5 separate regions of the Homo sapiens genome follow, and all the other regions are linked to region 1. Evidence: promoter capture Hi-C in 16 types of primary human blood cells and fetal thymus (Javierre and others, 2016). All regions are on one chromosome and are shown on one strand. The core of a region is centred on a gene start or on the middle of the fragment in contact, and the rest is flanking DNA. Distances in the headings are between cores, read along the strand shown. Region 1 holds the start of SCAF8 (SR-related CTD associated factor 8). Region 2 holds the start of LOC124901446. Region 3 overlaps ARID1B (AT-rich interaction domain 1B). Region 4 overlaps ARID1B (AT-rich interaction domain 1B). Region 5 has its middle 5.2 kb from the start of ARID1B.

Evidence for each region. The method cuts DNA at HindIII sites, captures the fragments that hold promoters and counts their contacts. A CHiCAGO score of 5 or more calls a contact.
Region 2: a contact is called between a fragment that was not itself captured here and the fragment with the promoter of SCAF8 in region 1, in 1 of 17 cell types (fetal thymus). The highest score is 7.6, in fetal thymus.
Region 3: a contact is called between a fragment that was not itself captured here and the fragment with the promoter of SCAF8 in region 1, in 1 of 17 cell types (neutrophils). The highest score is 5.7, in neutrophils.
Region 4: a contact is called between a fragment that was not itself captured here and the fragment with the promoter of SCAF8 in region 1, in 1 of 17 cell types (neutrophils). The highest score is 5.5, in neutrophils.
Region 5: a fragment that was not itself captured here is called in contact with the fragment with the promoter of SCAF8 in region 1 in 1 of 17 cell types (neutrophils); the score reaches 5.0 in neutrophils.

Annotation. Positions count from the first base shown.
Region 1 is chr6:154,730,634-154,736,659 of GRCh38, forward strand. It overlaps SCAF8 (SR-related CTD associated factor 8), which reads left to right and starts at 2,783. Exons shown (of 20, transcript NM_014892.5): 1 at 2,783-3,297. The coding sequence starts at 3,268. RefSeq lists silencers at 2,416-2,655, 2,686-2,805, 2,956-3,555 and an enhancer at 2,816-3,319. The HindIII fragment of the contact is 14,602 bases long and covers 585-6,026 here.
Region 2 is chr6:157,376,039-157,382,064 of GRCh38, forward strand. LOC124901446 reads right to left here and starts at 5,053. Exons shown (of 1, transcript XM_047419644.1): 1 at 3,276-5,053. The coding sequence starts at 4,663. The coding sequence ends at 3,773. It overlaps ZDHHC14 (zDHHC palmitoyltransferase 14), which reads left to right and starts at 5,152. Exons shown (of 9, transcript NM_024630.3): 1 at 5,152-6,026. The coding sequence starts at 5,984. RefSeq lists enhancers at 3,476-4,088, 4,700-5,311 and silencers at 4,290-4,369, 4,530-5,419, 5,930-5,979. The HindIII fragment of the contact is 1,650 bases long and covers 1,792-3,441 here.
Region 3 is chr6:157,033,716-157,039,741 of GRCh38, forward strand. The region is part of intron 4 of ARID1B (AT-rich interaction domain 1B); the gene reads left to right. Among named protein-coding and RNA genes, the nearest start is that of MIR4466, 260 kb to the left of the region's middle. The HindIII fragment of the contact is 2,707 bases long and covers 2,434-5,140 here.
Region 4 is chr6:156,787,627-156,793,652 of GRCh38, forward strand. The region is part of intron 1 of ARID1B (AT-rich interaction domain 1B); the gene reads left to right. Among named protein-coding and RNA genes, the nearest start is that of MIR4466, 11 kb to the left of the region's middle. The HindIII fragment of the contact is 1,669 bases long and covers 2,417-4,085 here.
Region 5 is chr6:156,769,124-156,775,149 of GRCh38, forward strand. No RefSeq gene overlaps it. Among named protein-coding and RNA genes, the nearest start is that of ARID1B, 5.2 kb to the right of the region's middle. RefSeq lists a silencer at 4,392-4,686. The HindIII fragment of the contact is 3,243 bases long and covers 1,863-5,105 here.

The sequences.
Region 1 (6,026 bases), core at 1,533-4,032:
ACCCCGTCTCTACTAAAAATACAAAAATTAGCCGAACGTGGCGTCGGTTGCCTGTAGTCCTAGCTACTTGGGAGGTTAAGGCAGGAGAATCGCTTGAACCCGGAAGGCGGAGGTTGCGGTGAGCCGAGATCGCGTCATTGCACTCCAGCCTGGGCGACAAGAGCAAAACTCAGTCTCAAAAAATAAATAAATAAAAAATAAAAGCCGGGCGCGGCTATAATCCCAGCACTTTGGGAGGCCAAGGCAAGCGGATCACAAGGTCAGGAGATCAAGACCATCCTGGCCAACATGGTGAAACCCCATCTCTACTAAAAATACAAAAATTAGCTGGGTGTGGTGGCACGTGCCTGTAATCCCCGCTACTCAGGAGGCTGAGGCACGAGAATCGCTTGAACCCAGAAGGTGGAGGTTGCAGTGAGCCGAGATCGTGCCACTGCACTCCAGCCTGGCTACAGAGCGAGACTCCGTCCAGCCCCGCCCCAACACCCCGCAAAAAAAAAGATTGTGTTTAGGCTGCTCTCTGTATCTTCCCCCTCTGCTTACCCTGATCAAACTATGCCCTCTGTTACCATTCTGAATGCGGAAGCTTTATTAAATCAAATTGTGAAGCATGTTAACCACTGATTTTATCCTTTAGCTTGTATTGCATTTTAATTTCTCAGGCCTAAGTAATTCCATCAACACTCATTTCATGTATGACCTAATAAATAATCCCTCACAGGCCAAAGCAGCGCCTTTTTTTTCCGTTCTTTTCTTTTTTGTTTCTCTTTTTGAGACAGAGCTTCACTCTTGTTGCCCCGGCTGGAGTGCAGTCACGCGATCTCGGCACGCTGCAACCTCCGCCTCCCGGGTTCAAGCGAATCTCCTGCCTCGGCCTCCCGAGTAGCTGGGACTACAAGGGCGTGCCACCACGCCTGGCTACTTTTTTTGTATTTTTAGTACAGACGGGATTTCACCATGTTGGCCAGGCTGGTCTCGAACTCCTAACCTCAGGTGATCCACCCGCCTCGGTCTCCCAAAGTGCTCGGATTACAGGCGAGAGCCACCACACCCGGCCTCAAAGCAGTGACTTCTGATTGTGAGAACCTGGCATGCACAGAACTGAGTGCAGTACTTTCTCAAGCCACAGTAAATGCTCCTTTAGATGGAGTGATTAGGGGACCTCTTTCAGGAAGATTGAAGGAGGAGGAGTCAGCTATGGAAAGGACAAGAGCAACAGCACCCTGTGTGAAGAGACACAATTGTCCTACCTATGAAAACACTGCTTCTTGTCAAGTAACAGAAAGGCCAGTGTGGCAGGAGGAGAGTCAGGGAGCAAGGGAAGGTGGTGTGAGCTGCGGCAGGCTGGGCTGGGCCTTCAGGCCATGGTGAGAAGTTATGATGGTATCAAATGGGCAATGAGAAAGTATTTAAGGGATTTAAGTAAGGGAGTGACCTGATCTGATTTATCTAAGAAAAACATCCCTCGGCTACTGTCTGGAAATGAACTGTAGGAAGACAAGCAAGGGACCAGTTAGGAGGCTACTGCAAGTGTCAGTAAAAGATCATGGCTAGGCCTGAAGATGGGAGACGGTGGAGAAATCTGTGACAGAATTTGAGATTTTGAAAGTAAATATAAAAGCACTTGGTGAGTTATCCCTGTTACCTTCTCAGTAGCCAGGCCCTATACTAAAGCTGCCAATGAAGTAGAATGAAGGCTCTGAAACCTCAAGAAGGGCCTTACTTTCCCAGTTTCACGGGGCTCTGCGCACAGCTCTTAGGAACTACCTTGATTCCAAAACTCTCCAAAAGTACGATCCTGCCCTTATGTTCCTCTCTCCCTTTGAGTGAATTTGGGAATGATTGTTGAAAAATGACTTTCAACAAGAGGACAGCAGTGTTCGGGGTTCCACGATACATCCCTATCTTTTAACATCGATAAGTATTTTTAAATTGGTACCTTATTTTGCGCTGCACGAGAGAGAAGGCTTTTTACTAGCAGCATCTCCTAATCCATCTAAGAAATACTGTATTTACCTTTACTCCAAGTATCCTAGGGCAAAATTCCTTTAGAACAATTCATCTTCCGAAACAGACGGGTTCCCTTTTCACCTATTCAAGTGTTGTGCATTCTAGGGTCCCCTTCCCGCCTTGCAGACAAATGCGCTCATTGTGCCACTCCAGTCCCTGGATCCTATGCAGCGGGCATTTCCTGCAAGGAGCTGCTGCATGCCTGTTTCCCTCGCCGCCTGCCCCAACCCGAATCCAAGGCTTTGGTTTCTAATGTTCCCTCCCTGTGCAGTTAAAACAATTGAGTTCAGTTACTAAATAGATGACCAGGAACTTTTTCTTGGCGAAGGCTGCGGATGTTTAGGGCACTGTCCAGTAAAGTTGTGAAAAGCAACTAAACCCTGCCGCTTGTGCAAAAGGACCAATCCACCGGGAAACAAGGGAAACGCGCACATTTCCTCAACTTGCCGCTTCTTGGGCACGTTTAGGCTCTTATTAGAGCCGCGCTTTGGAGTTGCCTCCTCCTGCTGTACAAACCCGCCGCGGCGTTCCCCCGGATGCCGCAGCGCTCACTCCCGCGTCCGCGGGGCGCGGGGAGGGGGCGAGGCGCGGGCGGCCCCGGAGCCAAGGCGAGGGCAGCGGAGCCCAGCCGGGCCTACGGGCGGCGACGCTCTGGCCCCAGCGCGCTCGATGGTTTCCGCGCGGCCGCCGGGGCTCGCACGGTCCAGTCGCCAGGGGGCGCGCTAGCCGGCGCCGCGGATCCCCGAACTGCGCGGCCCGACTCGAGTCCGCCATATTGGATGCCGCAGCCGCTGCTGCCAGCGCTTCCTCCTCTGTCTTCGCCGAGCGGGGCTGGTTCCTGCGGCCCGAGCGGCGGGGAGGTGAAACAGGAGCCCGTCGGAGGAAGGGGCAGAAGGGAGTGGAGAGTGTAGGGGAAGGGGCTAGAGGGAGGGGGACCGAAACGGAGCGGGGCAGAGAAGAGAAGGCGCCGCGGCCCAGCCCCTCCCCCGCCCGCCGCCGACCCGCCCCGGCAGCGCCTCTGTTCCCTAGAACGGCGCTCCCCCCGCCCTAGCGGCCATGCCGGTGCCGCTCTGCCGCTGAGGGAGCCCTTCCCCGCCAGCGCGTGCCCTTCCACTCCGCCCCGAGGTCGCAGCGGCCCGCTCTCCCGCCAGCGCCCCCTCCTCGCGGCCACGCAGCAGCCCGCGTCTCGCTCTCCCCACCCAGTGCAGTGGCCGCCGCCTCTTCCGCCGCCGGGCTCGGGGCCTCCGCAGCGACAACATGGAGGCCGTGAAGACCTTCAATAGCGAGGTTGGTATGGCAGCCGGGTTCCCCTGCTCCTGCCCGCACCGCCCCCACCCCTGGTCGAGGCCGGGGCCCGGAGGGTGGGCGCGGGCCTGCGGGTTTTTTAAGGGTGGGGTGAGCGGTGGCCTAGCAGTGCCCGTGGGGGAGGGGTGTTTCTCCTCTGGGTGCCCCTCCCCCGGGTCCGGGAGGAGGGTTGGGGGAGGGCCGCCCTGGGGCGGAGGGAGGTTCTGGCGTCTCCGGCGTCCTATGGAATGGCTGCGAGCTCGGAGGGAAAGACCCGGTTGGGCCCTCACCCGGAGACTCCCGACAGGTCCCTCGAGGTCAGTTCCGCCGAGGCCTGGCCCGCCCACCTCCTTCCTGGGCCTTTGAGGATTTAAGTGGACGCTGGACATGACTCTCCAGACCTTCCCGGGTCCTCACTGAGGCTAACACCGATTGGGGGCGGTGGGGGAAATGAACCTACGGGGTGTTGATCTGTGGTCACGTTACACGTAGTGTTTATAATTGAGGCATTGTTGACTAGGTAATTTGCCAGCTAGGGACTTGAGCTAATTGGATGGTTGGTAGGCAGGCAAAGGTTATTCTGCAATATCTTTTATTTTTACTCGCTCCTCTTCTAATCCATCACGACATAAAGACAAATGGTAGGGAGAGATCTGTGCATCGAGAGATGGAAGATTATGGGGGAAACATTTCTCGCTGGTTCATTCACGTGTCAAACAAGATTTTAAAAAGCAGATTCCATTTTCACTGTGTAGTTGAATTTACTAGTCTGGAAGAAGACAGGTTTTGATGTATTCAATTTCTTTTTAAACTCCGACTTCAATAGGCCTTAATGTAAACATCAAACATAGCAAGTACACATCTGCACAGTCAGCATTAGTATCCCTACCCGTACGCCTTGGAAAGTGTAATTATGGCCGGGAACAGTGGCTCAGGCCTGTAATCCCAGCACTTTGGGAGGCCGAGGCGGGCCAATCACGAGGTCAGGAGTTCAAGACCAGCCTGGCCAACGTGGTGAAACCCTGTCTCTACTAAAAATACAAAAAATTAGCTGGGCGTAGTGGCAGGCACCTGTAATCCCAGCTACTTAGGAGGCTGAGGCAGGAGAATCGCTTGAACCTGGGAAGCGGAGGTTGCAGTGAGCCGAGATCTGCGCCACTGCAATCCAGCCCAGTGACAGAGTGAGACTCTGTCTACAAAAAAAAAAAAAAGAAAAAGAAAAAGTGTAATTATGCTGGTAACTAAATTAGCATAAATTTTATGAACTCTTAAAGTGCCAATACTTTATTCGATACTATGATTGTTAAAGAGTATCTTTAATATTTACCTCTTAAAATACGAGGCTTTTTGCTGTGACGGCCCAAATAGGACAGTACTTTTAAATGCCGTTGCATAGTTTTATCTTGTTTTAATTTCTTTAAAAAGAAAAACAGTATTTGGGAATCTTAGCTAAGAGGCTAAACGGTAGATAATATTTGGGCTATTTTCAATAGCAGTGATACATAACTTTTTTTGGAAAGCATTTTCTTTTTTAATACTACATTTTTTATTTTTAACATTGATAAATTAGAGCAATAGACTTGGGAATCTTCTTTTTTTTTTTTTTTTGAGACAGAGTTTCGCTCTTGTTACCCAGGCTGGAGTGTCACCATCTCAGCTCACTGTAGCCTCCACCTCCCGGTTTCAAGCGATTCTTCTGCCTCAGTGTCCCGAGTAGCTGGGATTACAGGCGCACATCACCACGCCCCGCTAATTTTTGTATTTTTAGTAGAGATGGGGTTTCACCATGTTGGCCAGGCTGTTCTCAAACTCCTGACCTCAAGTGATCCACCCGCCTTGGCCTCCCAAAGTGCTGAGATTATGGGCGTGTGCCACTGCGCCTGGTGTTTCATTTTTTTTCATAGCTATCTTTCTTTTTTTGAGGAGTGTCATTCTGTCACCCAGGCTGGAGTGCAGTGGTGTGATCTTGGCTCACTGCATCCTTTGCCTCCCGGGCCCAAGGGGTCCTCCTCTCACCTCAGCCCCCCAAGTAGGTGAGATTACAGGCCAGTGTCACCATGCCCGTCATTTTTATTTTTTATAGAGAGGAGGTCTTGTTATGTTGCCCAGGCTGTTCTTGAACTCCTGGGCCCAAGCGGTCCTTTCACCTTGGCATCCCAAGTGCTGGGATGACAGATGTGAGCCACCACGCCTGGGGGATTTCGTTTTGTTTTGTTTTTTGCCCTCATTGGATTTAATTCCCGCCGCCACCCTCTTCCCCACACACACTTTGTTGGGTGTCTGTCTTTGGGGGGGTTCCTAATAATGTGGTCCTCCCCCTCAAAGGGCCATCCAAGACTTTTTTTTTTTTTTTTTTTTTGGAGACGGAGTTTTGCTCTTGTTGCCCAGGCTGGAGTGCAATGGCGAGATCTTGGCTCAATGCAACCTCCACCTCCTGGGTTCAAGCAATTCTCCTGCTTCAGCCTCCGGAGTAGCTGGGATTACAGGCACCCACCGCCATGCCCAGCTAGTTTTTTGTATTTTTAGTAGAGATGGGGTTTCATCACGTTGGCCAGGCTGGTCTCGAACTCCTGACCTCAGGTGATCCACCCGGCTCGGCCTCCCAAAGTGCTGGGATTACAGGCGTGAGCCACTGCGCCTGGCCCATCCATGACGTTTTAAACAGTAGCTCCCAAATATTAGATGTAAACAAGTGGTTAGTGCACTATGGTTGGTCACAGTAGGGAAGAAAT
Region 2 (6,026 bases), core at 1,367-3,866, 2.6 Mb after region 1:
AACTGGTCCTTGGTGCCAAAAAAGTTGGGGACCACTGCCCTAGAGGGTCCGATTTCGGTGGCCCACCATGGTAGCTTGCTCGATAGCGCATGCTTTATTGGTTTCTTTTCCCTCCCTATCTCACTTCCTCACTCTTCTGCTGGTGTTTTCTGCAATCCCCTCCCAAATAAACTAATTGTGCTTGGATCCCTGTCAGTTCTACTCCAGCTAGAAACATCATGCACTTTCCCAATAATTTACTTTTCTGTACCCATCCCCATTTCCCTGAGAGACTAACCCTTTCATATTCTTCCTGTCCAAACTGTCAAGGTCAGAGGTGCACTTTGCTACAGGCTGGGCCTGAGATTTCTCTTCACTCTGAAATCAAGATGATTTCTCTATTCCACTCAGTTGTTGGTTCATCAGACCGCGTGCTCTTTCCATTGTGTGGGGGATATAGGAAAGCTTGAGTCAGACATTCATACCTGGCCTAGAATCTTGACTCTATTACTTACTTACTGCAAAACCCTGGGCAAATCACCTAACTTCTCTGATCTTCAGTTTCCTCCTCTGTGAAATAAAGATAATAATCCCTGCCTCATCAGGTTGTCCTCCGGATTTAATGATCTAAATGTATAAAGAACCAGGAGATTGACTAATACAAAAATACTCTGGAGAAAAGATCATTATTTTTATAATATCGTTCTCTTGTATTATTGAATTTCTCATGTGCCTCCATCTTGTTTCCCAACCTTAACTGTAGTTTCTCTGCCGCATTTACCTTCATCATACTGACCTGCACGTGACAAGCACTAAACATTATCAATTTTCTAAAGCTTTAAAGTGCTAAAAGAAAAACTTCAGCTGAATTCAATTTAAAATAGTTTAACTGAGCAAAGAATGATTCATGAATTGGGCAGCCTCCTGAGCCAGGGTAGCCTCAAAGACTGCAGTGCAGTCGCGTGGTGGAAGAGAATTTATGGACAGAAAAAAGAAAGTGACGTACAGAAAGCGGAAATGAGGTACGGAAACAGCCAGATGGTTACAGCTCAGCATTTGTCTTATTTGAACATGGTTTGAACAGCTGGCCACAATTGAGTGGCCAAAACTCAGTAATTGACACCCGAGTAGATCACACTCTGTTTACACTTCCATTTAGGCTACAGTTCAGTGTACAGAGAAACCTTTAGGCCAAACTTAAAATATGTAAAGAGGCAGTATTAGGCTAAACCCCATTTAGCAAAAGTAGATCATGCACTCTTTCAATTCAATTCAAGACTCATTTTTGGATTATTTGTTATTGGCGAGGCATTCTCAAGGAATTTTTAGCAGGTCTTTTGACTTTTCAGTGTCCTTGTTTGAGAAATACAAGTTTTGGTCTCTAATTCTAGATACGCTGACGTCCCTCTAGCATTAAAGTTTGGAATCTATACATTCCTGGAGGGCAAGGACGGTGATTTTTCTTTCAGACCCCTCAACACTTACACCGATGGTGGGTACAGAGTGTGGCATACAGAATTGATGCTGGTGCACACAGAATGAATTCCTGTTCCTTTTTCCCTCTCTCCCTGGCCCTCGCTCCACTCCAGCCAGACTGGTTTTTCTTTGTACCCCTAGAATTTTCCAGGTTGTTCTGCCTTGAGGACTTGGTACTTGCCCCTTCCCATCATTCGATTCTCTGCCCGACCCCAGTCTCTCCATCCCATAACCCTGCTTTGTTTTTTCGTTCTTGTAATTACTCTCTGAAATTGTCTTACTAGTCATTTATTTATTTGTTTATTCTCTCCACCTCTCCCCCAGTCCCCAAATATAAGCTTCTATCTTGGATCTTTTTGTATCACTGCTGCTAAAACAGTACTTAGCACAATCTAGGCCCTGAAATAGATAACTGTAAAATAAATGAATAAACTCTACCATCCCTTATACAGTAGGTTTTACAGTCATCCCTCAGTATCCTCAGGAGATTGGTTCCAGGATCACCTGCGTATACCTGAATCTGCACATATTCAGGTCCTTAAACAGGCTCCACAGAACCTGCATATAGGAAGAGTGGGCCTTTGCCCTCTGAATACTCGCATTTCCCATCCCACGGATGCTGTATTTTCCATCTGCATTTGGTTGAAAAAAATCCGTGTCTAAGGGCATCCACGCTGTTCAAACCCATATTGTTCAAGATCAACTGTAGCTGGTGAGGTGAACTCTGCAGCTATCACACACCAGGTTCTAGTGAACGCTCTTAGGGGAGGGTAACCCATACAAGTGAATTAACCGCAGAGGTCTTAGTACACATGGAGTGGGAAGAAAAAAGTTATCCCCTGGAAGACAACTACAGACAATTGTATCAGCTATTTAGAAATCATATCAGCATATCTTATTTGCTGTGGAAACTTTAGGTAACATTTTAAAACGAATTCATTTCTTTTTATTATGGAAAATGTCAAACATAAACATGAGTAGATGTGGTAGGTAAGAAAAGCATAATGGACTCTCATGTACACTGTGGTGGATGCACTCCGGGGTGTCCCTCACCCTAGGGTTCATGCCCTGTGTACTCCTCTCCCTTTGAGTGTGTGCAAAACATGCTTTCTGGCCAACAGAATGTTCACATTTGAAGTTGCCCCCGTGGGATTGCTTTATGTTATATAAAATTCTGTCTTGCTGGAGACTCACTCTGGGGACTCTCCTTGCAGGCCTGACAAAATAAGTGGCTGTGCTCGGAAAGCCCAAGTGACAATGAAGTCCAGGTAACCTCTAGGAATTGCAGGTTCCCTCTTGGAGCTGAGGACAGTCTCCAGTCTCCAGCCAGCAAGAAGCCAGGGCCCTCGGTCCTACTGCTGCAAGGAAAGGAATTTTGCCTGTGCCCGGAGTCAGAGTGGAAGCCAGTTCTTCTCCAGTGAATGTGAACGCAGCCTGGCCAGCCCCTTGATGGCAGGCGTGAGACCCTAAGTGGGGGACTGAGTGTACCTGGACACCTGATCCATAAAAACTGTGAGAAAAATCTGTCTTGTTTTAAGGCCACTACGTTTGTGGCAATTTGCAGCAATAAATAATTAAGTACAAGTACATGTCACCCAAGGTCAACTATTTTCAACAGTTTCCAATTGTTTCATTTATACCTCCATGTCTGGAGCTGGGTGGGTGGGAGGAGGGGAGTGGATGGGCTGGTGTGTTTTAAAGCACATTTCAGACTTTATATTATTTCGCTGGCAGATACTTTAGTACATATCTCTAACAGACAAGGAAGGACTTTTTAAAAGCATAACCATAATGCCAGAAAAATTCGGTTTCATTGAGAATAAGAGTGGGAGTCTTTTTTAATGCCATCAAATCAATGGATCTATTATATTAATTGGACACCCACAGAAAAGGTGCTTGCAATAAACAGAATAAGAATAATACCCCGTTGATCTCATTAGCTAAAGGACAGGAAAGCATATGAGAGCTTTCACTTGAAATGTATGAAGCTTTCCAGTTGGTTTTTTAAAACTAGTCCAGCCACAAATACTTAATTGTCCCTGTAATATGCTTGTCTCTCATACAATATCTAAAATAATTAAAACCCAATTATTATCGTGTGCTTAAGATCCATTCTCCCTAGACTCTAACCGGCTTTGGAATGGACCCCTGTAAATTTCACTTGTATTCAAAACTCCTTGTAATTGCATGTCATACTCTAATTGCTATTCCCATCACTTTTTCCTTACCACAGCTCCTCCCAACTGGCCCTCTTGGATAAGCCAATCTCATCCCCCTTCGACACTCCTCACTGAGGCACGCTTTGTAAGGGACATACTTAGGGCTCTGGGTTCGATGCCATCTCTACTACTTGGGAGCTTTGTGATGTTTGGCCAGTAGTTAAGCTTTCTCTAAGCTGGATACAATAATGCCTCACCGGGTTCCGGCGAAGATTAGACAAAGAACATGTGTAACGTGCAAACTGCCCAGTACAGAGAAGGCACCGTTCCCCACAACCCCCTTTGTTGGTTCCCATCTCCCACCACCTAGCCCCAGAACGCCCAGCACCACGCCTCTCCTGCCCTTGTCGCGGGGGATGCAGGGACTTGTAGTTTCTAAGGCCCCGAGTCGTGCTTCTCCTCGGCGCAGGCCTGCGGGCGGAAGAACTACACATCCCAGTGGGCTGTGAAAGGAAAGTGGGGCTCGGGAAATTGAGCATCCCTGCCCAGCTGCCTTCGTTTTCTGCGGCCCCGGGGCTATGCCCACCTCTGCGGGGGCTCGGACCCGCGGCAACGCCTGGGAGGGCGCGAGCGAGCAGAAGCCCCAGGCTCCGGCCGTCCCAGGGCCGCGCCCGCAGCTCCTCCTGGGCTGTCGGGTGGGAAGGGGGGAGGCGCAGGCGGGAGAGGAGAAGCACGCGACCCCTCCGCTGCCGAGGGGGCTCCACGGGGGAATGGAGGGAGAAATAAAGCGAGCAGCTGTAAACGTCCGTGGGGAGAAGTGGAGACCGAAAGAGCTGGGCGGCAGCAACCCAAAACCTGGCCTCCAAGGGCTTATACTCCGGGAGGGAGGCCGGGGCCGGAGGGGACCCTGACCGCTTCCTCTGCCCTTCTTTCTCGGCCCGGAAGCCGGCCGAGCCGGGCCCCGAGACCCTCGCCCGCAGCCCGGTCCCGAAGTCAGGCCGGCCTAGGGCCGCCCCACCCCATCCTGGCACCCGGCACCCCCAGCCCATTTCTCGGGCATCACCAGAGTCCCCGGGCGACGCGACCACGCGCCCAGCTGGGGAGGAGGAAGAAGGGAGGCGCAGGCCGGGGAGGGTCACCTCCGCGCCGCGGCTCCTCAGGTCCCGGGGAGTCGCCAGGAGTGGCTTGCCGGTGGCCGTGGGAATGAGCGTGTCCCGAGGCGGCAGCTGCTGCGCGGGATAAACCCGGAAGAAGCCGCGAGACGGACTGAAGTCGGCCAGGAGCGCACTGCGCGGCGGGGCCGCGGGCGCCCGACCCCATCCCTACTTGGGCGATGCCACAGGGAGCCCCGCGCCTTCCACACCCCAGGGCGCCCGCCCGAGGGGGCTGGGGCTGGAATCTCGCTGCGCCGGTGCCCTGGCTTCGCGGGCGAGGAGGAGGAGGAGCAGGAGGAGGAGCCGCGGGTGAGGCGCGAGGCCACCGCCCACCCGGCCCGGAGGAGGCGGACCCACTCGGAGCGCCGCGCGCGCGCCGGGCTGAGCCTTGCAAACAAGTGTCTGTGCTGTGTCCCCGCGGCCCTCCTCGCGCCGGGGCCGCTTCCTCCGGGTAGGAGGGAGCAAGGGAGCCCTCGCCGCGCGGCCCGCGAGCCGCCGCCGCCCTCGGCCCGCGCATCCCCGCGCGGGGGCCGCGGATTCGACTAGGCTGCCAGGCGCAGCGACACCGGGTCGCGGTGCGAGCGGCGCCCCGGCTCTCGCCGAGAGGCTCCTGACAGAAAAACGTGCGTGGTTGTCCCCACCCCTGGGAGGGGTTGCCGGTGCCGCGCGCGGCCGCCCAGTCGCCAGCGCTCTCTCCTGGGAGGATCCGCTGCCGGAGGAAGGAGTGGACCCAACCTGGCCGCGCCGCAGAAGTGGCTCCCGAGGAAGCCGGCGCCGGGGCCGCCGCCTCGTGTCCCCTCGGGGCGCAGTGCTCGGGGGTCGGCGGGCCAGAGCCGAGGCGCGGCCGGGGAGCCGGGGGCTGCGGGGCCGAGCGGGCAGCCGCGCGAGGGGGCGGGCGCTCGGCGACCCGGGGGCCGGCCGGGCTGAGCCCCGCGCCCCGGGACGCGGGCTGGAAGCGACGGAGGAGTGCTGCCGCGGGCTGCGGACCAGCGCCGTCCCCTCACGGAGCGGGGATTCTGCTATGACAGTTGGGCTCCCCGGAGGGTTAACCTGGGTGTCCTCGGCAAAGTTGTCGCCGAGCCGGGAGCCCGTGTAGGGGCCGCGGCGCCGCGGCTCGGGGGGCGGCCGGGCGGCCGGCGGCGGTCGTGGCTCGGCGGGGCCCGCGCGGCCGGGGGGCTCCTGGGGGTGTGCGCCCCCAGCCGGCTGCCCTCGTGGATGCCTCCCGGCGGCGGCGGGCCCATGAAAGACTGCGAGTACA
Region 3 (6,026 bases), core at 2,537-5,036, 2.3 Mb after region 1:
CTGAACTTTACAGACTGAACTTTCACAGAGCTCTTAGAGGTTCTCTACAAATGGAATCCTTTTAGGCACTTGTGTTATAAAATGTTGATTGTAACATTTGAAATAAGTGTGAGTTAATGGAAAGGGCCTTGTCTTTGCCTTTAGGAAGTTTCTACTTTGTTATCCTAAACCTGCCCCTTCACACCTCTGTACTTCAGGAACCCTTGAAAAGTTCTCTCTCCCATTGAAGTGAAACATGGGTCTCATCAGAGTATTCAAATTTGTCTCTGTATTTGTTACAGTGTCTGTGTGGAGGAGGAGAACGTTGGCTATTATGTCCTAATTTTACATTTGATTAAACCTGTGACTTTTTTTTTCTTACTGCTAATTTTTAAGTCTCCCCACATCAAAGTTAAAAAGAAAAATAACACAATGAATAATCTTATCTTTTCATTTATGAATTAGAATTTATTTTTGACTGTATAATGGATACTTAAATACATTTCACTTAGATATTTATACCTAAGCTAAACTCATTTTCTTATGACATTAGGCACAAAACATTGCATTTAATAAATATCTGCACAGTATTTATTATGAATGAGTGATGGTCTTTTTGAGATTAGAGCAGATAAATGCAGATTATAGGCAAAGAATTAGTATTTTAGCATCAATGCTGTGTCTTCCCAGTACAGTATCCAGTCTTTCCATTGAGAATTTCCCAAATTTTTCAGTTGTATATTCTTGTTTTAATCGGATTAACACAGATCTACTTCTAATTTATGTATAAGAATGATGGGTGGTTTTGTCTTATGAAATATAGTTATTGACTTTTCTGTTATTGTTGTTCAAATTTATGACAAAAGGAACAAAAAAGCTTAGCTGATTTCGGCCGGTAAGTTTAATGACTACTACCTGGAAATTAAGTGTGAAAGTTGAAATACTCCTTTGCTCCCACTAGAGGGGGATTCCTTCCAACTTAGGTAAAAATGCTCTTAGACTCAGCGTGAAAACCTTGTGTGACATTGATATTCCCTTTGTATTAAATTGAGGATAACCTCATGTTTTTAAAATCAGCTGATTTTCTGTAGTTGCTGATATTAAAATCTTACAGAAATAGAGGATGTAAAGGATACTTGAACTAGGGTACATATATATGTAAACAATAGTGCTTTTGAACAAAACATAAATACTTTTGTAGAGTTGCTGTAATTAAATTCGTTTAAAGGTATATTAAGAGTTTCAAAACAATTCCCCCAGCCCTCCTGGAGATAGAATCTGGGGTGAAGGGTGCCCTGGTGGGATCTGACTCCCTCCTCCCACCCACAAGGTCTGTCACTGTCTCTGTCTGCTGAAATAGCCACAGGGAGAGTTCTAAATTTCACACGAAAGCTTTGATTTGCTCTCACCTCAAGTTGTCAAATATATTAAAGCCTTATCTTTAAATAGAGCTCTATTTGCTATTGAATTTTCTTGTTACATTGACTTTTTATAATATGATAAAATATGCAGAACTCACTGAAGATTTTTTCTTGCAAAGTTAAACTGTAATATATTTTAAAAATAATTCTATTTGTGTTAAAAATAGCACATCAAGGGTGAGGTATGCAGATATGATCTATATGTGTAATTCACAAGCAAATGTCATACGATGTTCACAGTATTTAAGATTCAGCATATTTCCTGTTCGCGTTTTTCCTTTAAAGTCTCCAATGTTGATTAGAGGTTTTAATTTAAAAAATAGTTGAGGTTAGTAACCTAGCATTGTGAAAGTCAGGGCTTGGGAAATTCAAACATGTAATCTTTTTTCCTTTTCTTAAATGAAAAGTCTATAATAAGGCCTTGTTTCTAAATCTAACAGCCTTGGAAATTAAAATGTAAACAGAAATGCTGTCAGTGAAACTTACAATGATTTTTTCTACTATAATTGATCCAACATTTCAGTCTTTAGCCTAAAATCATATTTGGTATCAGCAACATATGGTTTTCTATGAAAACGAGGCTGCTCATCTCCATCCCTAATGGTAGTATCTTTCTTTTGCTTTCCGCACCAGGCTCTGCCAGTGCCAGGGGGTGGTCAGTGAGCCTGGCTTTCAGTGAAGCAGTTGGAGAAGACAATTTGCTTCCTTGTTTCTTCTTTTGACCCTTTTAACTTTCATACTGGATGAAAGTCTTATTGTCATGGCCTTCCTTTCTATATTTTCTGTCCACAAGGGAAGAATACAATTTTGTTTTATAGCAGGATACATTAGATAGGCCTATGTGCCTTCTACTTAAACACCTGCCACACATGCCTAGTTTTAAAAGGTTTAAAACTGACAGTGAAGCCTGTTACAGTCTGATATTGCCCACCCACCCCGTCTTCCTCTTTAAAAATACTCAGATGTGTTCTGTTGCCTTCTTTCCTTGTTCTTTTCCATCGTGTATTGGTACTTTGCAATAGTCAAAGTTAAAAGCTTTACACACGACACTGAATAATTATGTTTAAAAAACAGTAATTATCAATACACGTTTTGTTCCTCGCAGCTTTTTAAAATTCATGTTAATGAGCTCTGTCTTCTATGCATGAGACTGACAGGCAGTCTTGAAGTTTTGCCATCATTTCACAACTTGTTGCTTAGACACTGCCTGCCTTTTCCAGAGTATTGCTTTCAGGAACTCTTGCTCTGCAACATTCCAGAGATCCAGCGCTGCCCACTCTGATCTGAGCAGGACAAGAATCTACTGGTAGCACACATGCATAGTGAGATTGCTCTACAAAGGGCAGCTTCCCCTCACTGTCTGTCAGTAAAAGACCAAAAGGCATATGCAACATGTTGTGATTTAGGTGAGAAGGATGATTCTACTCACTCCCTGGATTGTTTTTGAGGAACTTCAACCACTACGTCCACATGATGGCAGATGGATTCATTTGATAGGAGCTCCCGCCGTCTTATAGAACTGAAACCCAGACGGTGACTGGGATTTCAGCCCAGCTCTTGAAGATACTCACAGATCTCTCTTTCTTGACAACTGACATAAATGGAATGCCAGTTTTCTCAGAACTCTCAATTCTAGGCCATGCCTGTGTCTGGTTTCTGTGGCTAGACTCAAAGAGGTTTTTGATAGTGCCTAAATTATGTTTTTCCTTATGATTTCAGGTTGAAGTCTTGGCCTCGGAGGATGCAGCCTTTGGACTCAAGGTGTGTAGTCTGGTGTAGTTCATTGTGGAGGTTTTTGTCAGTTCCTCCTAGGTGGATTTGAAGGTTCAACAGAGGGGACTTATTTTTTTTTTAATCATAATCAAAACACTGAGGTTTAAAAATCTTCACAAGTTTAAGATTTCTCTTATTGTGATTAAGATTAGACTGTGGTAGTATTTTCATTACCTTCTTTGTTGTGTAGAAAGAAACAATACAGGAAAACAAGAGTTTCGTTTAGCAGTAATTGACTTTTAAATTTCAATTCGGCATAGCACAAGATTTGCTTAAATTTTGCCCCAGTTTGGGGCTACTGAAATGTAAGATGTTATCAGAGTGCTGTATTTAGTTCATAGCTCCAGTGTTATTCATTGATTTATTAAACGTCCCCGCTTCAGACAGAACCCCTACCGTCCAGTTACAACCGGATTGAAAACCCAGCTCCTTCCCGTGAGGACCTCATGACCAGCTGACAGATCTAAGCCTATAAGCAGATAAATCATCCCACAGGGTAGCTGTATCCATGCAAGAAACATGCCAGAGGCTGCGAGTCGGGTGGAGTGGAGAATGGGAAGGCTTTCTAGGAGGTGGATCCCTGGGCTGAGTTTTGAGGGCTTAGGTTATACTGAGGCAAGAAAGGAGGGCAGGAGAAATGAGAGCTATTTTCGGGTAGAACAGCCACCATGAAAAATATCTGAGGAAGCTAAAAGTAGTTAAGTTTCTGTCTGTGTGGCAAGATCTGAGACTGGAGAGGTTAAAGATAACTTTCTCCTATAAAAAATGGTAAGCTATTAAAAGATTTTAAGCCAGGTAGTGGTCAGATTTGCAATTTAGACAGATGACTTTGGCCACTTTTTGGAGGACGGATTAACCAGAGACCAGTCAAAAGCAGTTGAATAGACCCAGTAAAAGTGAACACAGGCCTGAGCTGGCATAGTAGAAGCAGTGTCAGAGGGCAGAGGACTGGCAACCGCAGTGTGCAGGGTCTGGTGCCTGCTGGGGTATGCAGAGTAGGAAAAGAGGAGCTCAAGATGAGTCCAGGGACAATATGGTGTCACCCTGAGATAGAGAACACAAGAGGAAGAATTACAGATTTTTAAAAATTATAATCTTCCAGACCTGAATTGTCGATCAAATTACTTGCCTTTTGTACATATTTCCTGATAATTTTTAAATTTGTTAAATTTTGAGTAAATTGGGAGGCATTTGCCTTTTGTACATATTTGGTGATAATTTTTAAATTTGTTAAATTTTGAGTAAATTAGGAGACACTTATTAGAGAACTCTGATTTCATTTTCATATAGAGGTGTAGAAGTATAGGGTAGGTGCCATCAGTTACTTCGGAAGTCAGTTTGGGAGGATAGGAAGGTTGGTAGAAACTATTACAGAACACCAGGTATTGGTGATGACCCTCACGTGACTCCTCCATGTGCTACATCTTTGGCTTGAAACCAAGTTGGATTATTTATATATACATATATATATTTTACCATTTTTTTATCCTATATGCTTGACATTTCAAAAGCACAGTCTACCAGTTGTACAGTAATGACAGGTAAGATGACACTGTAATGCTACCAAAAGCAAAGTTTCTGAGGTTACAAATGTAGCACAATTTTACATTCATAAATATATGAAGAAAATTAAATTAATACTTTATAAATACTTGATACAACTCAAGTTTATAACCCTAATAAATTTTTTATGTTTCTGTATCTGCCAAAAATTACTAAAAGAAATTATTCTAAATAGAACCTAATTCAGTATTATTTACAGTATTTAACATATGGTTGTCTTGTGAATTTTTCATTTTTTATTTAATGCCCAGCATACATGTGGAATATTCATTGCATTTTTAATAGACCTGTAGGGTCAGTTCTTAGGAGCTCATTTTCATAATCCTTCATACTTACTGAGTATGCAGCAACGTTATAGAAGATTAGTGTAGCCAGCAGCTCTCATAGTCTGCCCTGCTGTGTGAAGCTTCCGTGTTTGTTCTGTGGCCAACCTAACAGGTTCCTTTTGTAGCCTTAACTTTTTTTTTTTTGAGACTGGGTCTCACTCTGTTGCCCAGGCTGGAGTGCAGCGGCGCGATCATGGCTCATTGCAGCCTCAACGTCCCAGGCTCAAGCGATGCTCCCGCCAGCCATGTGCCACCATGCCTGGCTAATTTTTTATAAAAATGCAGGTCTAACTATGTTGCCCAGGCTGGTCTTGAACTCCTCGCCTCAAGTGATCCCTGGTCTTGGCCTCCCAAAGAGTAGTGTTGGCATTACAGGCGTTAGCCACTGCTCCTGACCTCATAGCCTTAAATTTAATAAGTTGAAACAACAGTGAAAATTTTTTTCAACAATCCAGTGACTTTCACAGTAATAGATGCTTTTAGCTTTTGCTGATCTATACTGAAGTGTTTATACATATAATTAAAAATGGGAAATTTGACATTTCTTTTTTTTTTTTTTTTTTTGAGACGGAGTCTCGCTCTGTCGCCCAGGCCGGACTGCGGACTGCAGTGGCGCAATCTCGGCTCACTGCAAGCTCCGCTTCCCGGGTTCACGCCATTCTCCTGCCTCAGCCTCCCGAGTAGCTGGGACTACAGGCGCCCGCCACCGCGCCCGGCTAATTTTTTGTATTTTTAGTAGAGACGGGGTTTCACCTTGTTACCCAGGATGGGACATTTCTTTTTACTGCTTCATTATCTGGAAGTCGGCAAGTATATTTTTGAATTCCAAAAGCTACCTACCTTCCTTCCTTCCTTCCTTCCTTCCTTCTTTCCTTCCTTCCTTCCTTCCTTCCTTCCTTCCTTCCTTCCTTCCTTCCTTCTTTCTTTCCTTTCTTTCCTTCCTTTCTTTCTTTCCCTCCCTCCC
Region 4 (6,026 bases), core at 2,001-4,500, 2.1 Mb after region 1:
TCACTCTAACTAATGAATTATAAATGACCTTGGAAATAGGAATGTGGAACATTGCTACTGCTGAGCAAGTATCTTTCTGAAGAAGCAGACATAATTCCGAGGGGACTGGCATGTTTGCTGTGTATTAGTTTATTTTGGTGATTCTGAGGATTTGTGAGCGAATAAGCTTCTATGATGAGGCATCCTGACACAATGGTAAGATCATGGGCTTGGAGCTGGTCAGACCTTAGCTCATTTGGAGGCCTCAGCACCCATTTTCTCTGCACTCCAGCAGGGGGTCAGTTTCCTTACCTGGAATGTTGGCTGCTGGGCAGGGTTGTTGAAAACCTTCACTGAGGTCATGGATGTCTATCTGTGGCATCTGTATGTGGCCCCTCTCTTCTCTGCCTACCTGCCTTCCCATGTGGGGCTTGTTTTCTCATTCTCTGCCTGGTCCTGCTGTACTTCGGGGTGTGGCTGACTCAGGACAAGCCCTTGCTGGCATCAATTAGGTGATGCTCAGCCCCTCCCAGCTCCAAAAATCTGTGCTGCTTTGAATTTTTAAACAAATAGTGCCTAATCAGCTATGCACCGCTGAACAGCTTATTAAACCACACTAGATCCCAGACATATTCTGTGAATATAAACTGAGACCTGTGCAAATACATAGATTTTTGCATTCCACTGTAGTTTCCCTTACAGAATGTGGTTTTGTACTGATTGGGACTCTTGCTCAGCAGTTGTATAAATTGGTTTTGGTTTACCCACAGAGCCTACGGCTGATGCCATTGGCCCCAAGCTGCTACCCCATTCAATATCCCATCCCTAATATTAATTAGTGGTCTCTTCTCTGGCCAACAATCATTCCTCTGTTATACTTCCTAAACCTTCCCACTTTGATGATCTGCAAAAAATGACTGGCTTTTTAGGAGAATTACTTTTTGCAAAGGAACGAAGTTGCAAAAATTTAAAAGTAGGCTTCTTGGAGATTTTGGGTGCTAGACTTTGGTCTCTCATTAGCTAAGTAACTTGCTTCTGTGTTTGCTTCATCTTCACTGAATATATGATTTAGACTTGATCCTTAGCAAAATTATAATTTACTATGCATGGAGGGTTAGGGCTGCTCTTAAATAGTCAAAACAGGAATGTCAAATCTAAGAGTACCGGGGTCCTCCCTCAAATATATAAAGAGCAATTTTTTTTAAATGCTGAGATTTATAAAACTATCAGGGACAAAATGTAATTCTATTATGAACAAATACTTACTGAGCACCACTTGGTGCTTAAGATACACAGAGTAAAGATGACATATGATCCTTAATTTTCCCAGGTGTATTATCATAGACTCCTGGTGTTTTACAAAGTGGAAATTAAAGTGAATGGCTACAGTTTTCTTCTGTAGTTCTTATGCAAAAAGACTATATTCCTCAAAGTGCACCATCTAAGAAGTATTTATGGAGTAAATGATGTATCCAAGCTGAAACTTTCCTAACGAATGTATTATTCATTTCCAATATCAGTTGCAAGGAAATCCGTTTGGTCAGTATTTGCTATTCTATGTGGAAGGTCAGTGTACTTGGAGATTGTTCTTTGGTGCTGTGACGTTGATGAGAAAGTGATCCTAATTTGGATTTTGTATTGGGTGTCATTCATATGGTGATTTTTCTGCTAAAGAAAAGCCTTCACATCAGTAACATGAAGGATTTAATACTCAGTTCATTTACTTCACTGTATTGAACTGTGTGCGTCAGGGCTTTGGAACTATAGATTCGTGTCATCACAGCAATAATGTGGGCAGAAGGCACATGTTTGTGAAGAGCTCACTGTGTGCCAGGCATCATGCTGGGTGATGGGATTCTTTGGTGACCTCCACAAATGGACAATGCAGGAATTAAGGACAAGTAAACATGCTACACAGTAAGGTGTAAAGGATTTTGTGAAAGAAGTTTTGATGTTAGAGGGTCACTTTATATAGATTAGGTTGGGGTGGAGTTGAGGCAGGAAGGCTCCTACAGCAAAGGAGGTCTGATGAGCTAAGACTTGGTTAATGAGAAACAAACAGTGAAGGTAAAGAGGCATGGGGCTTGGGGCAAGGGCTAGAGCCAAAAGCTGGCAGGTTAGAGAGCACTGGAAGATTATGCATTTACTAGCTGTGTGACCTCAGGCAAGTCACTTCGCTTCTCTGTGCTGTGTGGTTTCCTCATTTGTCAAAGAATGGGAAAGGATACTTAACTCATGGAATTTTCATGAGGACTAAACTTTATAAGAAACGTGTATGCTGCTTGGCAATGAAAAGGACCTTTTAATAGAGTAACAAAGGATTGTATTTTCTCATGAATAAGGAATTAAAATGAGTTAGAGGCAATTCTCTATTAGTTAATTTAACAAGTTACTTAGCAGCCTATCGGTCTTTCAGAGCAAATAGGTTTATATTTGAAGCTTAGTTCTAATCCATACCATGGCAGTTTTCAAATTTCCTGATATGTTTTTACCTTGTCCAGTGTTAGGAAAAGTAAGTTATTGAGCAATTCTAAAATGTTTACTGTAGTTTGCCTGTTTTTTAAGCAGTCATATTTTTAACTGGTGAGGAAATAAATTCAGAAGATTTATAATTGAAGAATTTAATTTTCCTACCATCAGTAAACATTTAGTGACGTTGGTGTAGGGGCACTGTACCACAGAAGTAGATATCCAGAAAATATTTGTAAATTGTTAAACATTGTATTAATTGTTGAGCATAGAGTGATGTCCTTAGATTACTGAGTAAACAGTGGTGATTAAATTAATTAAGATAGTTTGTGGGGTGTTTAAATTTTACTTAGTATTCCATTTAATTAGAAATACAGACAATAACTCTGGCCTCATAAGCAATCTGAATTTTGAGTTGAAGGAAATGGGTGTCTGGCAGACAATTTCCAAATTGGTAAAATGGATCTTTTGCTTCTACTTTATTTTCTTCATGTATTAAACAAGTATTTATTATTGTTGACTGTTGGAAAATTTTAAAAATTACAGTCATACTTTTTATGACTTTGCTGGGTGTGGAAATCATCCCTTTCCCCCCATCTTAGTGCCAACTGCCTTTAACCTGAATTGGCTGATGCAGAACGCATTTCAGGAAGGCGCCATGCATACAGGAGGCAGAGACATGCCCTCTGCAATCCTGACTTTTCCTCTTTCACCCATGTCTATTGTATATGGCAAGACTCTGTCCTTCCTCCTCCACTCTGATATTGGTCGGAGACACAAGCACTTAGAAGCACCAGTGTTTTATTCTACAATTAATTACTGAAGAGGGAAATTGAAAGGTAAGCAGTTTTGTGTTTTATCTTTTATTATGCATTAAGTTTCTGTAATTTTCCATATTGCTATATTATTAGTGAGAAAGAGAAGAATAGAGAAAGATGGAGAAGATGAATTTTATTTAAGACAGTTATATTTGGATAACTTAAAAGAATATGCTTTTTTAGTCTAAATACCCTTTCCCAGTCTAAGTAGTTTCATGCTTCATGGAAAAACTAATGCAAAGAAGTTGTAATCAGCTGTTAAGATATTTGAGCCAGCTGGCTGTCAATATGTTGAAGTTTTATTCTTGGTGCATCCACAAATTCCATATAAATGTATTTTATGAAGAGGAAGGTGTACTAGCATGGCTAAACTGGTAAAGCTGAAATCTGGATTTGATTTGCATATGTGGTATTTTTCAGGGACTCTCAAACTTTCACACATGAAATAAACGAGGTAATGTGTATGGCATCACATGATCAAAATATTTTTCCCCTTGCTGCTGCCAGAGCTATCTATTGCTTTTCAACAGTCTCACTTGTTGGGCATCATGCCAAGATGTTTAAGACAACCCCTTACGTGAGCTGTTCCATTCTTAACCTCTTTGACTGAAGTGCCGTGACCTTCACATATGTAGATTAGCCATGTGCTCTGTGAATTGAAACTTGCTGCCTCAGGAAGAAAAGGGTTTTTCTTTTTATTCCACTGGGAATTTGACGGCCATTCATCCCTGACCTGGGCAGAGGTAATGCAAGGAAATTGGATTCAAACGGAACACGGACAGATAACACAGGGAGGCAGTCAGCGTGTACAGGCAGGCAAGCTTTCTACCTGGTCCAGGGTGAAAATACCCACCGTCTGTTCACAATGTGCTGATGTGCAGGATCCGAAGAGCAACTGACAGATGGAGATAGAGAGATAAATGTAGGAATTCTGGAACCGTGTCCTTTTAAAAAAGGACATTGTTATTATGGGCATTGCTAATTCGTTTTGACTCTCCTCTTTCTCTTCCTTTCCAAACTATATTTTTGAAATCTTTGAATTTTTGTTTATTTCCTAATGCTAGGAATTAAATACTTTTGACATAGTGGACAATTTAGATGAGTCTTTCAAAAGCAGAAATCTTTAAAAAAAAGGAGAGATGAATGTATGACCTGTATCTGGAATTTTGAAATGAATTGATACTTAGAACTTTACTCATATGAGAGTTATTAGCTTTGTAATAGCTGAGTATTTTTATTATAGCACTGTTATTTATGGCTCTTCTAAGTCTTTCTCTAAACCTACATTTCTTTATTTGAGAGGCAAGAATGAGAAGCAGCATATCCATAAGAGTTTTGCCAATCACTCCTGACTAGAATGACAAGCTGATTTCATGTTTCCCCAAGTATCAGTCCTATGCAGCCCCCCCTTTTTAAAAAACCATGCAAGGCCGGACCCAGTGGTTCAACACCTGTAATCCTAGCTCTTTGGGAAGCTGAGGTAGGAGAAGTGCTTGAGGCCAGGAGTCCAAGACCAGCCTGGGCAACATAGTGAGACTCATCATAGTGTAATGATGAATAAAAGTAATTAATAGCACATTTTTGGATTTTTATTAGACAAAGCTAGTTTTAAAGAACATTTATCTTTGCCTTGTTAATAAACATACTTGCAGTTAGTGTAAAATTCAGTATAAATAATAGTCATGGTGCTTGAGTAGGCTGATAGGACGAGATGCATAAGGAAGGTTGTCGTTATAAGAATAATGGGTCTGAAGTGGTACTCCAGCTAGTGTCTTAGCAAAAGGAGGGGTGCTTAGGGCAGTCTGAAATTTATGAGTGCTTTTGTATAGCTTTCAAAGCTGAGCTTTTCCTGTGTACATTAGGGTTTATGAAATATCGTGGGTCAGAGCATCCGTTACAGGCGCTGTGGGAGCTGTCATAGATACCTGGCTCTTTCCGTGGGTGTAAAATAGGTTTAGTCCTTAGGATGTCTGTGTAGGGAATGTGCTTAATGGATACGATAGACTATGGGGGAAGCAGAATTATCCTTTTATCCGAGGATGACTTGTTTCTTTTTAAATGAGGACAATGAAAAAAAAATTGGGGGAAGTATCTTATCACAGTCTTGTAGAATGTGGGGGCTTTCGTGGACTGCAGTTCGCATGGCAGGCATAAGGAGCGCTAATCCAGTGATGACAGCATCTTTATGCCTACCTGGGAAGATGCAGCAGCCAGCACAGCCCTAATATCAGATTAATACCGGGGTGGGGGCATGAGGCATGGCTGGCACCTGAGAAGGCAAAAGGGAATTCTGTGATTGGAGAAGAAGCAAGGCAGGTGTGTCATTAAGGTCAGGATGGCCAAGTGGAGAGTGGTCCTCCTGGTGCACACAGTGAAGGAGAGCAGCCAGCTGGGTGCAGAGGAGGCAGCAGAAATGTCAGGGTGTCCGTGAGTCAGCAGCTGAGCATTGTGGGATTTTTTTTCCTTTTCTTTGAGACAGGGTCTTACTCTGTTGCCCAGGCTAGTGGGCAGCGGTGAGGTCATGGCTCGACTTTCTGGGCTTAAGCAATCCTCCCAGCTCAGCCTCGTGAGTATCTGGGCCTACAGGCACATGCCACCATGCCTGCCTACTTTTCAAAATTTTTGCAGAGATGGGGTCTCACTGTGTTGCCCGGGCTGGTCTTGGACTCCTGGCCTCAAGCAGTTCTCCTGCCTCAGCTTCCCGAAGAGCTAGGATTATAGGTGTTGAACCACTGGGCCCGGCCTTGCATGGTTTTTCAA
Region 5 (6,026 bases), core at 2,234-4,733, 2.0 Mb after region 1:
ACTCGCCTCAGCTTCCCAAAGTGCTGGGATTACAGGCATGAGCCACTGTGTCCAGCCTGTCTTTATTTTAAATGACCAGCATAGTCATTGCTGCTTTAGCTACATCAGTTCTCTGCTCTGAAAGAAACAATTAATTTGAAAATGCATGTAATAATTTTATTTGCATGTTTGGATTCAGCCATAAAATTATGTTGACAATTGAGCCCCCACTGTGGGTTCAGGAATGTTCTGAGTGTGGTAGACAATATAACAGAAATTGAAGACAGGGACTTTGTCCTTGAGAAATTGATCCATCCAGCTAGGGAGATGAAAATTACCTTAATAAAGTACAGTTATCAAACACTTCTGGTGTGCCAGGTGCTGTGCTCAGAGCTTTGAAGACCTTATTTCACTGAATCCTCAGAAACCTGGGGAAGTAAGCACTACTGCGATCTGTGTGTTATACAGGAGTAAACCAAGGTTTGGGATGTTTACAAACTCTTCAAAGGGTTGTTGTGAGGATTATGTGAGAAACCATAATGCATTATATCAGTTGGGTTTACATGTGATTTTCTACAAAAAAAAAAAAAAAAAGAAAGAAAAAGGGGGAAAAAAGACCAAAACAAAGCAAAAAATACCAGAAGCTTAAACAAGACAGAAGTTTATTCTTATTTCTCATACACGAAGTCAGGAGGTAGACAGCAGCTGAGCTGCCCTGAGCAGCTCCGCTTGAGCGTGTGGACGTACTGACTTCCAAGGGAATATGCAAAATGTCGATTTTTTTAAACAGGTGGTCATGTGCCCAGCTAAACACTGGGGCTTCTGTAACTAAAGGTGGGAAGAACAGATATTGGGTTAGTTAGGCAACTTGCTTCTCTGCCGTATGTATGCAAAGTGCCAGACACGGGATAAACATACTAAGTGGTATGTAATAACAGTTACAAAGCTCAATGCAGCCTAGAGGTGGTTTGGTTCATTGATTAAATACAACTCTTTGTGTCTGAGGTTTTCTCTTTTTTACGCTTGTGCACTATCCCTAAACAGGTAAGTGAATGAGAACAAGGGAGGGTGTACCGCAGGCCGGGGGCATCCCCATCCCCGCTTGGGCCAGCTTCTCCTTTACCTTTTCCAGAGATTCGAGGTGGTTTGCCCTAAGGTTTCACACCTGTGTGAAGGTGGCAGGAAGCAGCCAAGTCATGATGCAAAGCAAGGACGCTGCCCAGGCCTGGGCATTTCAGCTTCTGCTTGCCTCTCCTGCTCCCTCTCAGCACCTGTGAATGACAGCTCAGGTCTCTGGCAAATGGGAAAAACCCAGGACATGCCAGTCACATTGGACAAGACATCCTCTGTATCAGTGACAACAAGCAAGACGCCCCTCATGCTGTGCAAGCAGGTGGCCCTGAGAAAGGGTTGGTTGTAACTCATGGTTAGGTGTCTTGAATTTGGTCCATTTATTTTGAAAGGTTTTCCATGGATCATCTCAATCTCACAAATTCCTAGATAACAGAGAAGATGCTCAGGCTACAGAATGTTCCCACTGTGTGGAGTTGAGGAGTTGTCCTCCGCCTCTTAAACCTTGAAGCTTGCTTTTTCTTTTGAGACAAGTTCTCACTCTGAGGCCCAGGCTGGAGTGCAGTGGTCTGATCACAGCTCACTGCAGCCTCGACTTCCTAGGCTCAGGTGATTCTCCCAGCTCAGCCTCCCAAGTAGCTAGGACTACAGGCACATGTGACTGTACCTAGCTAATTTTTTTTTTTTTTTATAGAGATGAGATTTCACCATGTTGGCCAGGCTGGTCTCGAACTCCTGGGCTCAAGCTATTCGCCTGCCTTGGCCTCCCAAAGTTCTGGGATTATAGGCATGAGCCACCATGCCCAGCCTGAAGCTTTCTTTAGAGCTAAGTTTCTATGGTGAGCAGGGTTGGCTTATCAGAGCAGGGCTGGGAGAGCAAGCTGGGTAGGACTGATGGGTAGTGTGGAATGGTCTGGACGGCAGGGATAAAAGCTGGAATCTCCAGTTGCTTCATGCCAATATGGTTTGGGCAGGAAAGGGTGGAGAGGAAAAAGAGGAAAGAGAAGGCCTCGGCCCTGCCATCCTCTCACCTCCTTATCTAATCTACGACCTCATTCTTCAGTGTTACCTCCTCACTGTCTCTCTCATGGAGGCCACTGCTAGCATACATGGAGCTTTGTGTAAGTTAGAAAAAGACACCCCATTCTCCAGTGGACTCAGCTCTGTGCCAGGACTCAATGAGTAGCATGCAAGGCCCTGGCTGAATCAGAGCCCCCACCCACCTCCTTGGCCTTGAGCAGTGAGCAATCTGCACATTCTGAAGTAGTGGACTCTGTGGGGTCAGTTCACTTATCTCTATCCCCATAGTCCCTCTGGTCCCCATACAACTCCACCATCTCTCTTTTCTCACTTGGGCTATGCGCAATCATCACAGATAATTAGGAGAGCCATTTATAAAGAGGCCTACATTTAGACGCGGTGTTGTTGCCAGGTACAGTTATACATTTAGTCCTAGAGATAACAACAACTAGATTAAAAGATGTTCTTCATGTTTTTTGCTTTTTAGGTTGGGATCTATGATCAGCTCACACTGCCCTATGAATTAAAAAATAAATAAATCTTAAGATTTATTCTGCAAAAGGCATATTTGTATAGCATTGTATTCTTGAGTCTGTACATTAGGAATTTAAAAATGTAAACATTAAAATAAACATTTGTATGCTCCTCTTTTATGGTTTTAAAAAATATCATAATATCCTCAGAGCCGCAATAAATGAGAGTGGCCAGGCCGCCCTGGTCCCAGAGGTTTGAGCCCCGACTCCCGGGACCTGCCGCCCGATTCCAGCTCTGGCCGCACTGCCAACATGCTGTCTTCCTAGCAGTGGTTTCTTGCTATAACCCAGATCTGATGTCAGCCCCCTGCTTCAATGCCCTGGTTACTTCCCACTGCTTTTGGGTCACAAGCCCTGATTTAATTGGGCCTGGGACAAGCATGGTGGTCCCTGTCTCCCAGCATGCCTGCCCTCACCCTGCTCTCCAGTCCCACTTGCCTCCTGCCGTCTGCGGCACTCTTTCCCTTCTTTATTTAATGTTTTCTCCTCTTTCTTTAGTGTTCAGCCCAAGTCACATTTCCTCAGGGAAGCTGTCCCTCAGCCCCCAGTCTGCATCAGGCTCCTTGGCTATTTCCCTCATAGAACCCTGTACCTTTCCTTCAGAACCCATTGCTTTGTAACTCTCCATTAGTGATCATTCAATGAATGATCCGGTACATTCAATGTGGTCAAGTGTTATTAGTTTTTGTTGTTCACTCCAGTGCCCACAGCACCTAGCACAGGGCTAGGGCAGAGTAGGTGATAGACAGTTCCTTGTCAAATGAATAATTGGGGTTGAGGCAAGGAGTCCCCTTCCCAGATGCTCCTTGTGGGTTATGCTTTGGCAGGGAAACCTTTTGGCATGTCCGGTCCTTGAGAAAGAGGGTCACCTATACTACACAGAGTACAGCTTGACACAGGTGTCACCTGAGGGCCCAAGAAGATGCCAGGGAGAGCTCACTGAAATTTAAGTCTTAGAGTTACATGTTGCAATGTAACTTCAAGTTAGAGAGAGAAAAAAATTCTTTATATTTAACTTGGGCATTTTTAGGGGAATGGGTTAATAAGCAGATTCCTCAATGAAATTATGTCATTTTGGTATGAAAAGCATATAACCAAGTCCTTTGGCCCTGACCAAGACAATTAGATGACTGTCATAAACCCTTAAAGGTGCTCACTGACTCGCATAATGAATTAGAAACCAAGTCATCAGGTATAAGCAAGGTGAACTAAAAACGAGGAATGCGCTCCATTAATGCACGAGTTATTGTTATTTGGGACTTACTGTTTTTGAAACATAGTCTTATTCTCAAAGTTTACCTGTACTATAAAGCAATTAATCATTATCTGTGAGAGACCTAGAAGGCCTTCAGGTAAGTTCCTGAAACTTTTCTAGAAAACTGAGGTGATTCAACTGCCAAGTGACTTATTTGTATACCTGATTATATATGCTTACTACCCAAATATTTATTTTGAGGAACTAGAGTGGAGTTACCTATGCAGGACCTTTAGCCAGCCAGGCAGCATGTTATCACTAAGAACGGCCACAAAGATGACTACATGATGTGATGTAGAATACTGAAAAACACTGGTAGGTGCTCAGTAAGTGATTTTCACTAATGGCAAAATGATTGAGGACAGTACTGGAAATAAAAGCAGCCATTGAACACACATTTGTCTAAAAGTTACAAGAAATTTATAAATGAGGCTGTGATAAAGTCATTCAAAAGCGGACAGTCCAGGATAAAATAAAAAGTACAATGTATTAAAATGTAGTAAGGTGTTTCTTAATGTATTTCACTGGTGTTACTATGTTTCTAAGGAATTTGGAGAGAAACTGTAGTAGCCTGATGTTAAACTTAAGGTTCTGGAAGTCCAGACTCCACAGTGGTGGGTTCCAGGTGTCAAGTCGGAGTTGTGTCAGCGGGAGGATTAGGGTCAGCTGCCCGCTAATGGCAGCCAGCAAGCCTCCGCTGCAGGAAATGCTGCGGGATGGGGAAGGTCTGAGCTTGCTTCTTTACTGGCCAAATCCCATGTGACATTGAGGGGCAGACCTTAGTAGGTATGAGTGATTGTTAATTGTTTATCTCCCCTATGAAGGACAGGACCAAGGTAATTATCTTTCATTTTCAAGGCATGGCACAAGGTAGACTCTAGGTAAATTTGTTGAATGACTACATGCAGTGTATCTCCATCCAGGTTTATTATCCCCACAATAATTTTCTTAGTAAGTTTATTAGTGCTACCGTCTGCCATAGTTCCCAAATTTGAACTATTTTTTTTGCCTAGGCTTCTTTTTTTTTTTCAAATCCTACCTAATTGATTTGCACAGTTGTTTCAAATCAAATGCTACATCCCATATCTTGCAGTGACGCAGTTATTCACTGCTAACGTCTAAATCGGAGAAGTGAAAAGGACAATTGTTTCGTGCTTTCTTAAGTCCCTGACCAAGATCAGTAGGGAAATCCCATTAGCTCTATTCATCGCATTTCTCATAAATCTAAAAGGAAAGCAAGTATCCAAAGCTTTATTCTTTAATAGTTCTTATTTGTAAAACCTTGACAGGGCTTTATTCTAAATTGCTTCCAAATTACATAAAGAATAGTTAGAAATATGATGGGCAGTGAATCGTGATAGTTTCAGTCATCGAATAAATAAGTAGAACAGTAAAAGGGGACTAATCTGAAAGCAAACAGAGTATGATGGGCTACGATGAGGCAAAAAGAACAGAACTGTGGAATTCTTAAACTACCATCTGGCTCAATCCCCTTTAAGTGGCCAAGTTGAAGAGCCTTTTATTCAGTGCCCTAAAACTTATTCAAAAGGCGCAGTATTTGAATATTAATATTTCCATACAGTAAAAAAAAAAGTCTTTTGTAACCAAAAAGGAATGTTTAACAAAATAATGGGTAATCCTCTGGCTAAACATGAGGGCGTGGGGAGCACCCTGTGGGTGGGAGGTCGGCTGGAACCCAGGGTGGCTGCGGGCAGCCTCCGGGCCTTCCCCTCATGGCTTCTTTGTGGTTAGGGTAACTTATTAAAGTTGTCATTGTGGTTTGAAATTTAGGCAAGAGGTGTAAAATTAAGGAATTCATTAGGAAAAATGAGCGCAGTGATTTCTAGTACCTTATTTCATCAAAAAGAAACAATAAGGTAGAATTGCCATATGAGATAGTTGAGGCAAGGAACACAATGGAAATTTGAACCTGTGGTTGAAATTGTGCTTTTGTGTAATGGGAACCTATTTCATCACTTTGTAACAGACCCCTGACAATTGGTGTTTTGTTTGTTAAGCCCTGGATGTTTAAATGAAACTAAACAGGCTTTTATTTTGTTTTCCTGAGGTGTGTATGAAAAGTTGAGCAAATTCGAGTGCACTTCTTATCTTCAGCAAAGATGCTTTAGAAAGGTATTTTAGCATTCTCCGTGGTTTAAAAGACAAAA